Regions from separate parts of the Homo sapiens genome. Here region 1 is linked to region 2. The links are contacts of gene promoters, found by promoter capture Hi-C in human tissues and cell types (Jung and others, 2019). All regions are on one chromosome and are shown on one strand. The core of a region is centred on a gene start or on the middle of the fragment in contact, and the rest is flanking DNA. Distances in the headings are between cores, read along the strand shown. Region 1 has its middle 8.7 kb from the start of XYLT2. Region 2 holds the start of EPN3 (epsin 3).

Region 1 (5,287 bases), core at 1,967-4,466, 200 kb after region 2:
GAAACATTAATGAGGCCAGGTGTGGTGGCTCACACCTGTAATCCCAGCACTTGGGAGGCCAAGTGGGGGTGGATCATTTGAGGTCAGGAATTTGAGACCAGCCTGGCCAACATGGTGAAACCCTGTCTCTACTAAAAATTCAAAAATTAGCTGGGCATGGTGGCACGTGCCTGTAATCCCAGCTACTCAGGAGGCTGAGGTAGAAGAATTGAACCCGGGCGGTGGAGGTTGCAGTGAGCCAAGATCAGGCCGCTGCACTCCAGCCTGGGTGACAGAGCTAGGTTCGGTCTCAAAAAAGAAATAAATTAATAAATAAAATAATGAGGGGAAGGTTGGAAAGTTCATACTTTGACCCACTCTCTATTCTCCAAATACTTAACAATGAGAGATAAAGTTTTTAAAGGCATTGATAAGATATATACAAGCTTAAAAACAGGATAAACATTTAGGTGGATAAGAAAGAGAACAAACTGGAAAGCAAAGTGGTGAGTAGGACCAAAGCCAAGGGCCTATGGGGTAATGGGAACTAAAATGTTGCACAGGGAATGGGGGATGGAACCAGACTCTGGCAGCAGCCACAGACTAGAGTGAGGCTACCCTGCTTGTGAAAGGAGACTGAAAACAAAAAGTGCAGCTGACCAGATCTCAGGAGCTATGGCCCAAATGGTGGACCTAGGAAGGCTGCAGAACAAAAACAGCCTCACAACCCAGACTTAGGTCAAGCCATCCTCTAACTCTGGGTCTGCACATCTCCCAATATCAGTGAAGAGCATGAGTTCCCAACCACTATCACAAAACTATTTCTGGACTAGGGCACAGTGAATGCCATGACGAAACTAAACCCACCAGACAAAAAAGGAGAGAGTAAAAAGCACAATGCAAAAACAAAAATTCTCAGCTACAATGAGCCTGTAAACCCAAATTCCAAAGGACATGAAGAAATGGAATGATAAAAAAGATAGCCAAGCAATTCAACAACTGGAATATGAACTTTCTCCACATGAAATTCATCTCTTGGACTCATATGACAAAGACTTGAAAATAAGGATGGCTCAAAGAAGTAAATGAAGAAATCATCTGACAAACAAGAAATTATGAAACAAATGTAGATGAAAATGAAATGAAGATATACATATGAAATATAAATAATTATACATCTCAGAAATAAAAATGTAGAAAAGCAATAAAAATATCTCAAAAGATAGGGTGAACTTTAGACTGGATATAGTTGAAGATAAAATTAGTGAATTGGAAGATAGCTCTAAAGAATTGACAGTGAATGCAGCAAAAAGAGGTACTTTGATTAAAAATAAGAACAGTTTGAAGAGTAGGAGAATAGATTGAGAGACTCAAACTATGTATAACAGGATTTCCAGAGTAAGAAAATAAGGAAAATGGCAAGGAAATAATATTGAAGCTATGATAGCTGAGATTATTTCAGAATTCAAGGAAAATATTAGTAACATACAAGAGGATTTTGATTTTTAAAACTCAATCTGATACTCTAAGTTTTACTGTTTCTTTAATCAGTTTACATTTAGTGCCATTAATGGATTATTTGGATTTTCTTTGATTATGATTATTCCACATTTTCTGCTCACTGCCTTCTTTCTCCACTTTTTTTCCCTTTACTATATTCTGTTGGATTGGTAAAATCTTCTATTCTCCTTTTTCTCTTCCAGCAGTACCAGGGTTGGTACAGCTTTTATCAACTTACTTAATGGCTTTCCTTAATATTTTCTGTGCTATTCACTCCATTGGTGAGGGAGGGATTCCCATCCTAGGTTTACAGAGATGGCCAAACACACGACATTTGATTCTGGGCAGATGAGATTGACAGTAGTGTATTAGTCACATATACTCATAGCCCAGGGCAGGATATCACACACCATGCAGGGCCACACAGGGGTTGCGCTCAGAGACAGTGAGCAACTAAGGGCTGTGGGAGGCAGGCTTTGTAGTATCAAGAGGATGAGATGTCCCCTAGTTTCAGCAGGAAGATGTGACTGGCTTATGTGGATAATTATGCAGGCTGCAGGCTGGCAGGAAACTGAAACCCACTACTCAGGAATAAGCAGGAAGTGCTCCTGGTCCCCTTGATAAGGGGGGTTATTTGGCTGGGGGACCTTATCCAAGGGAGCAGAGTGAGGAGGTGAACTTGTGGCTAGGCCAGTCAAAGCCTCCCAATTTCACCGCATATAAAGTCAGTATCAGCATTTAATACTGCGCCTGAGTTTTAGGCCTTAAACGCATTTTGCTGTTAATTTTCCTTTCAGGGCTATATAGACTGTTCGTCTGCTATAATCTTCCTTAATAATTTAGAAAGCAAGAATTAGAATTCTTTAAAAAAATTTTTTTTTCTTTTTTTAGACAAGGAGCATCTTACTATATTGCCCAGGCTGGCCTTGAATTCCTGGACTCAGGTGATCCTCCCTCTTCAGCCACCCAAGTAGCTGGGACTACAGGTGTGCACCACTGTGCTAGCTCTAGAATTCTTTTTAAAATTCTACTTGTGTTTACTTACAACTTTTCAGATAATTTTAATGTGACATTGTTCCTCAGTGGGTAGGCCTGTGCAAACCTGTCGCCAAAGTCCAAGGAAACTGAGAGACTGAAGAAAAAGGCTGACAAATTCAGTTTCTTAGAAATAAACAATAGGAAATTAGAAACAGAAGCCAGGTCTGTGTCTTGTGCAGTGGCTGGCAGGGAGACAAGATGTTACCCCCTAAGACCCAGGGCTTATCTACCACAGGGAAGGGGTATATGTGATCCAGAAGGCAGGTGAAGGACAATTGAAGTATGATAACATCAAAGTTGTTTTGACCTAAGGGAGGTAAGTACCTGTTCTTACACAGGTAACAATAGATAGACTGGAAAGCTTAGAGGAATTCCCAGAATTGGGGCTAATCAGAAGTCATCATGGCGGCTTAGCCTCCAATATGGAGTTGCTTTAGCCTTCACAGATATTCAATGATCACAGTCCTCATAGAACTATAATTTTTATTTCCCATTGTAGAAAATTAGTTTCTCCCTATTCATCCCCACTTCTTTTCTCTCTCTACTATGTGAACAAGGATCATTCTCACTTGTTAAAAGTTCATCTGGGGTTATGAACTTTGTCATTTTGGTTTATAATGTAGCTAATTTCTTTTAAGGGAATAATCTCTCTTTTTTTTAATCTTCAGTTTTGAGACTATTTAAAAATATTTAGAGTAATGCATATATATTAACTTGTTCAATGCCCTTTGCCAAGTAGATAATTTAAAAAATTACTTCCTGAGGCAGGCAGATAGCTTGAGCCCAGGAGTTTGAGACCAGCCTGAGCAACATGGCAAAACCCCATCTGTATTAAAAATACCAAAATTAGCCAGATGTGGGACTACCGTCGGTAGTCCCAGCTACTCAGGAGGCTGAGGTGGGAGGATTGCTTGAGCTCAGGGGAGTGAGGCTGCAGTGAACCATGATCACACCACTGCACTCCAGCCTGGGTGACAGAGCAAGGCCCTGTCTCAAAAGAAATAGTTCAAAAATTTCAAAAATAAGGCAACGAATTAATTAAAAACTGTTTCAGAACAGCCAATGATCTCCCTTTCTTTCCCCTCTGCTCTCTACTTAGAATTAACCAGCCTGGCCCGTTTGCTTTGTTGCTTCCACATTCTTCTCTCTGCTCATATAAATATATGCAGATGTCAACCCTTTGGTAGGTTTCCACTCCATGTTTTACAGAAGTAAGATGATACAGAAATTACCCAACACTGTGTTTTTAAATAAATCATCATTTTATCATGGATACCCCTCCAGGTTAATACATAATAGCTACATAATGTTTATTACTTTAGTATAGATACACCATAATTTATTAAGCCATTCACCTGTTATTGGGCATTGAGGTCATTGCTAGTTATTTTGCCCCTACACATATGGCTTCAAGAAGCATCTTAGTTCATATCACCTGATATACTGGTGTCTTTATTTTTGTATGATAGATTTCCAAGAGTGAGATGGGTATGTACATTTCTCTTTTAAAAGATATTGCCAGAACATTGCAAAAAGGTGCTAGCAATCTGTAGTCTTGAGAAGACATGAAAACTCTCCTTCCCCTAAACCTCTAAGCAGGTGCTTCAAGCTAGATATTTTTCTCATTCTTGAGTATTTACATCTGATTTTTTCTCTACTGTCCTGGCATACATCTTCAAGTGATTTATTAAAGAAGAGTATTCAGGAGGGATTCTTTTAAAAATAACTTCCACACCTGAGGTCTTTTTGTTGCCTTCATACATGAATGACAACATGGCCTATCCTTTAGGTTTTTCTAGATCAGTGTAGTTCAAACTACAGGTCACAACCCACTCAATTTAAAGGATTATGGCTACATTTTAAAAAACATAGAATGGGGGTGGGACATGGTGACTTACACCTATAATCCTAGCACTTTGGGAGGCCAAGGCAGACGGATTGCTTGAGCTTAGGATTTTGAGACCAGCCTGGTTGTCTCTACTAAAAAAAAAAAAAAAAAAAAAAAAAATTGGCCAGGTGTGGTGGTGCATGCCTGTAGTCCCAGCTACTCAGGAGGCTGAGCAGGGAGGATTGCTTGAGTCTGGGAGGTGGAGGCTGCAGTGAGCCATGGTTGTGTCACTGCATTCCAGCCTGAACGACAGAGTAAGACCCTGTCTCAATGAAAAATAAAAAAAAATAAGTTAGTCGAGCATGGTGATGTGCACCTGTAGTCCCAGCTACTTGGGAGGCTAAGGTGGGAGAATCACTTGAGCCCAAGGGTTTGAGGCTGCTGTGAGCTATGATCATGCCACTGCACTCCAGCCTGGGTGACAGAGCAAGACCCTGTCTCAGAAAAACAAGAAAAACAAAGCTCCACACAGTGGCTCACGCCTGTAATCCCAGCACGCCTGGTCTAAAAGTACAATGTATTTCTAATGATGACTTGAGATAAAAAGAAATTGACATTTTCTTCTTTTGCATGCTGTAGTCTTGAGAAGACAGTGATTTATTCAAGAAGACTATTCAGGAGGGATAGCTCACAGCAGCCTCGAACTCTTGGGCTCAAGGGAAGTCTGAGATCATTTTAATTTAAGCTCTCTGTTATTTTTTCCCATTTGTTTGTAAGATCCTTATTTATCACTGCCCCTTCCTGCATTTAAATTTGTTTTAAAAACTTTTTAAAAAAAATATGACCAGGCGCGGTGGCTCATACCTGTAATCCCAGCACTTTGGGAGGCTGAGGCGGGTGGATCACAAGGTCAAGAGATCAAGACCATCCTGGCCAACATGG
Region 2 (5,484 bases), core at 363-2,862:
CCTCTGGGAGGGGACTCTCGGTGTGGGCCCAGCGGCCCTGCCTGGACCTTTCTCACAGAAGGTGGGCATTCTCTGCACACCCCTGCAGGGGCTGGGGGGAAGGGCGGGGCCAGAAACATGGGGAGGCACCTTGATTTTCCTTCTCTGGAGTTTGAGGGGACAAGGTGAGGCTGCCCAAGCACAGAGAAGGGAGGAGGAAAGGAAGAAGCCTGCCCAAGCGCAGAGAAGGGAGGAGGAAAGGAAGAAGCCTGCCCAAGCGCAGAGAAGGGAGGAGGAAAGGAAGGAACGCGGGAACGCGGGAGGGAGCAGCTGGGAGCGCTGCCAGCAGTGTTACAAGCAAAGGGTTTTATCGAACACGATATGCCCAGAAATAAAAGGGAGTGTAACAGAAACCCAGCGGCCGATAAGGCGGTGGCGGTAGCAGCAGCAGCCCTGGGCAGCTGGGTATGGAATTACTGCAGTGACCTTGAGCCAGACCCTGTCAGGTGGAGGGAAGGGCACAGAGAGGGCAGGGCCTGAGAATTCAGAGATGACGAGAGGGCAGAGGAGGGAGGAAGCTGAGGGGATGGGAGCAGGGCCAGCAGGCGGTGGGATGGGCCACGGGGCACGGAGTATCAGCTCTCTCCTGCATACAGGGTCCCAAGGAGAACTGCGCAGTAGGGAGGGGCTGCTCTTCTCAGGGCCTGCAGGATGGGGGGATCTGGAGAGTTTCCCAAAAGTCAGGACCGAAAAATGCAGATCGCTCATCCCCAGCAAGGGTTTCGGAGAGATGGAGAGAACCCAGATCTGTCCAGTCACACGTGCATGAGTTTGCGTAAAGTCTGTGCACCCACCAGCCCAGCCCACACCCTCTTCCCGTCCTCTGCTAAGGTGGGCTCCAGCCCCTGCCTCCAAGTCAGATCCAGCCTGAGCAGTGGGGAATGACAGTGCCCTTCTTGATGCTGTAAGGGACAGGGGGTGAGCTTGAACTCTAAGCTTCTGGCCACTGTAATAGCTGCATCCCGGGAGCACAGAAGATGGGGGAGGGGGGACTGCCCTGAGGCTAGAGGTGTGCATGAGGGGCTGAAGAAGAGGAAACAGCAGAGATGTGCAGAAGGAGTCTGTGGGGAATGCCACCAAAGATGCTAAGATGCCACCAAAGATGCTAAGTCCCAGGATGGTTGGGGAGGGGGCCCTGAGTCCCTTTTTGGGGGCGGCAGGGAGGGAGGGGTGGCAGGAAAGAAGCCTTTAGGTCCTCTACAGCTCAGCCTTCTCCCTCGCACCTGGAAAAGAGACTAAGCCCCAGAACCACTGTTTGCTCCCCACCAACCCCCGCCTTCCATGCCGCCACTGCCAGGGAGGGGGCCAGGGAGGAAGCTTACCTCCAGTGCGGGCTCCCTCGGCCCCAGCCCCAGCCCGAGTAGCCTCTGCGGTGACCCTCCGACCTGTGCAGCAGCGGGACGGCACAGCCTCGGGAGCGTCTCCAGAGCCATCCACCATGGACCCTCGTCCCAGAGACCCACCTGCTCCCAGGAGGTGCAGACCCCTCAGAGGGGCAGCGGCAGGGTCCCTGGAATGGGTAGCAGCTCTTCCCGCGTGCGTTTGCCTCCTAGCCAGCGCCAGGCAGCACTCCGAGGAAAGTTGCTCAGCTGGCCCGGCAGGTCTGCCTCAGCAGTAACAGGACACAGGAGGAAGTGCAGGGCAGGTTAACCCCTTCCTGCTGGCCAGGCAAGTGGTGCATTGAGAGGTGGGGGGCCTGCCTGTTGGCCGCCCCCAGGAAGTGCACATCTGGAGCCAGTGCTGGCGACCTGATCCCCTCTGCTTTGAGTTAACCCTTCCCCTGCCTCTTCAACAGGAAAGGAGGGGGGCTCCAACACCCCCACCACACCCCTCCCCTTCCTCCTCTGGGCCGGGAGGACATTAAAGGAGAGGGCAGGGACATTCCCTGGGGCTGGCTCTTTGGTGGAGCCCCCGTCTTCTCGTCTTCTTGGGGAGGAGAGCATCAGGACTCCAGCACAGCCCCCTCCCTGCCTTTCCCACACGGAGTCAGATCCTTCTGTCCATCCTCCCCCTCCTGCATCTCAGCTGGAGGATGCCTGAGGCCCACTTAAGGATGCCCACCCACCCAAAAACCAAAGTTGTTCTTCAAACTCTGGGAGCCTGGAGTGCTCTTCACACAGGGAGCCCAGCCCCAAATGGTTATGACTGACAGAAGACAATGAGGGGCCTGAGTTTGAGCTGACAATACCTTTTTTTCTGAGAGCCATTTCTAGCCTGTTTCATGTTCCCCTGAGCAAGGGAGGTAGCATGAAGATCAGCAGCTGTTTTTAAGGCAGAAAGATGGCTCAAGGCCAGATAGTTTGAGATGAGGAGGGGGATAAGGCAGACTAGACCCCGAAATAACAAGGTGATGTGGCCTCTAGAGCTGAAGAGGTGTGGTGAGCATGATCTTCAGGGACTGAATTGGGGCCCTGGGACCCAGCTGAAGAGGGGAGATGGCAGGGAGCCAGGTCCCATGGGTCTAGTTCTACTCCTCATCTCACACTTTGTCATACTTGGTGATGACACTTCGGGAAGACCTGGCTCCAGGAAGCACGACCCTGAAAGTGTGGGCCAAGGAAGCCAGAGGCAGGGACTACCAGAGGTGACACACTGTCCTGTCACCTGACTCCTTGTCTTGCTACCAATCTGCTCCTCTGCTTGGCATCCCACACATCACTTCCCCAGCTATGTCTGTCTGTCCTCCTGCAGGAGGGCTCTGGCAGCTGGCAGGAGGGGATCTGAGGGCAGGTGGAACATGGGAGGACCTGGATCAGGAGCTGACCTAGCCAAGATCCATCATGCAAGACACAGAGGCACACGGAAGTAGTAGAAACTTGAAGGTTCTTTATTGATTTATTTATTAACCCGTTTTCCAGAAGGTTGCTTGGGCCCGAGAGTCACCTGCAGAGGCGCAAAGCCTCCTCGACATTCTTTATGGGGCTGAGCTCATCAGCCAGGACCATCAGGTCAGTCACCAGGGTGTCCAGCAGCCCACGGACCTGGAAGAACGGGACAACATCACAGGCAGAGTTTACTCTGTGGGAAGCACCTATATATGAACTATGCTGTGAGAGAATAGCTGGAGAGGGGAAAGAAACCAGTTGTTTGTGAAAGAATTTCACAAGTTCAAAGTTCTTGTGAAATAATTTTTGGTTTTGCAGATTTTTTTTTTTTTTGACAGGATCTCACTCTGTCACCCAGGCTGGAGTCCAGTGGTGTGATCATGGCTCACTGCAGCCTTGACTTCCCTGGCTCAGGTGATTCTCCCATCTCAGCCTCCCAAGTAGCTGGGACTACAGGCGTGCACCACCAGACCTGGCTACTTTTTTCTATTTTTTGTAGAGATGGGGTTTCACCACATTGCCCAGGCTAGTCTCGAACTCCTGGGCTCAAGCAATCCACCTGCTTTTGCAGTTTTACTTTTCAAACCAGTCTGGGGAGGTGGCCCTGCGCTGGTACCTTTGACATATGGAGATACTAGAGCTAAGTTGTTCAAGGGGCAACTCCAGGGAGCCCATGGAGCGGTGCCCATTTAGCCGTTTGGGGTGGGCCTGGGCTCAGCCCCAGTTCTACTCTGGCCTCCTGGAGGCCAATTTTCCTTCCTGTATCCACAGACTGAAAGGTCTCTGGGACTGACCCCTCCAATGGGGTTGGATCATACAAGCCCAGACAAGTTGATTCTTTTTTTTTTCTGCAGAGATGGGGTCTCCCTGTGTTGTCTAGGCTGATGTCGAACTCCTGGGCTCAAGCAATCCACCTGCCTCAGCCTTCCAACGTGCTAGGATTACAGGTGTGAGCCACTGGCCAGCAAGTTGATTCTTTTTTTTTGGAGGTAAGAGTCTCACTCTTGTCACCCAAGCTGGAGTGAAATGGCGTGATCTCGGCTCACTGCAACCTCCACTTCCCGGGTTCAAGCGATTATTGTGCCTCAGCCACCCAAGTAGCTGGGACTACAGGTGAGTGTCACCATGCCTGGCTAATTTTTTGAATTTTTAGTAGAAACGGGATCTTACCATGTTGCCCAGGCTGGTCTTGAACTCCTGAGCTCAGGCAATCTGCCCACCTTGGCCTCCCAAAGTGCTGGGATTACAGGCACGAGCCACCGCACCTGGTCTGCAAGTTGATTCTTAATATCAAAGAGCCATGGAAGGGTTGACGTTGACCCCCATGGGTCCTCAGAGCCCTTTAATTACTTTCTAGACCCCATCAACCATCTGATATCTTAGTGATGTCACCAGTGGCAAATGGAACTTTTGATCAAATGAGATCCAGAGTGTGACCACAATACATGATGTAATCCCAGCTCCCCAGCTATCCACATTAGAGGAAGGCAAGACGTCGCCAATAGACATACTGACATATTGAAAATGGCTTTGTGGACCTCCCCTCCAAAACAAACAACAACACTAACAAACAAAACGGAAAACCTGGGTGAATTTCTAAGGACCTGCTACTTAAGAACGGATTAGGATGAAGTCTCTCTAGTCCTTCAAACTCTTACAGTTGATGGGAATGCACCCTGCATGGTGTTCTCCCAAGGAACGCATCTGCCAGGATGCACCTAACGGGGAGTAAGAAAGAGAAGGGCTTCCTTCCTCTCTGTTCCCCTAGAGTCTGTTCTCCAAAGGGCGGCCAGAGCCACCTTCTAAAGCCTATCAGACCCTATTGCGTTTCTATTCAAAACCTTGCGTGACTTCTCATTTCACTCCGAAAAATCCCAAGTCTTCACAATAGCCTGCAAACCATCCCCCACCCCTATGACCTGCTCCCCACTACTGCCCTCTCCCTTCTGGCCCCTCCCTCCTATGGCAGTTGCTCCCCATGCCTGGAGCACTCTTTACTGGACGTCTACTTGGCCACCCTTCCCCTCCCTTCAAATCTTTGTGGGTTGTCACCTCCTCACTGAGGCCTCTGTGCCTCCATTCCCTGCCTGGTCTATCTTCTCTCCCGTCGTACTCATCACCTAACATGCTAGGCGCATTCCTTATTCATGAGGCCTGTCTCACACACGAGGATGCCCTTCCTGAAGCAGCTCTGCTTCCACCATGATGGAGTGGGCACTTATTGTCTGCAGACTGAACGGAATGAATAAGGCAGGTGGGAGGCAGGGGAATGGCTGCTGGGCGCTTCCCTTCACCTCACTGTGCAGGCTCTGGGTGTATTTCCCCATGACCAGGGGGTCTATGGGTTCTTGAGAAGAGAGGATGATGTCAGGGGTAGGGTCTTCCAAAGAAAACCTGTCCTGACTTGCAGATTTTATGACTTTCTTGTCATCCTTTGCCTTGTGCTTCTTGCTGTTGGGACGGTCCTGCTGGGGGAGGGAGACACACATAGCCTTCAGGAGCTCCAGAGGTAGGCCAAGGATGTCCTCAACAGTAGCTCACTGGGAGAGCCTGGGCACATGCCCACCTCCACAGCCCCCACCTCCGCAGCCCCTCCAATCCCCTCCCCAGCCCCACCTGG

What was found. The method cuts DNA at HindIII sites, captures the fragments that hold promoters and counts their contacts. A contact is called where the count stands out against the background at its distance.
Region 1: a contact is called between a fragment that was not itself captured here and the fragment with the promoter of EPN3 in region 2, in 6 of the 25 tissues and cell types used here (aorta, bladder, dorsolateral prefrontal cortex and 3 more).

Annotation. Positions count from the first base shown.
Region 1 is chr17:50,334,825-50,340,111 of GRCh38, reverse strand. No RefSeq gene overlaps it. Among named protein-coding and RNA genes, the nearest start is that of XYLT2, 8.7 kb to the left of the region's middle. The HindIII fragment of the contact is 7,744 bases long and covers 1-5,287 here.
Region 2 is chr17:50,528,863-50,534,346 of GRCh38, reverse strand. It overlaps EPN3 (epsin 3), which reads right to left and starts at 1,612. Exons shown (of 10, transcript NM_017957.3): 1 at 1,362-1,612. MYCBPAP (MYCBP associated protein) reads right to left here. Exons shown (of 19, transcript NM_032133.6): 18 at 5,159-5,329; 19 at 2,846-3,020. The coding sequence ends at 2,919. RefSeq lists enhancers at 1-69, 70-746. The HindIII fragment of the contact is 9,890 bases long and covers 1,167-5,484 here.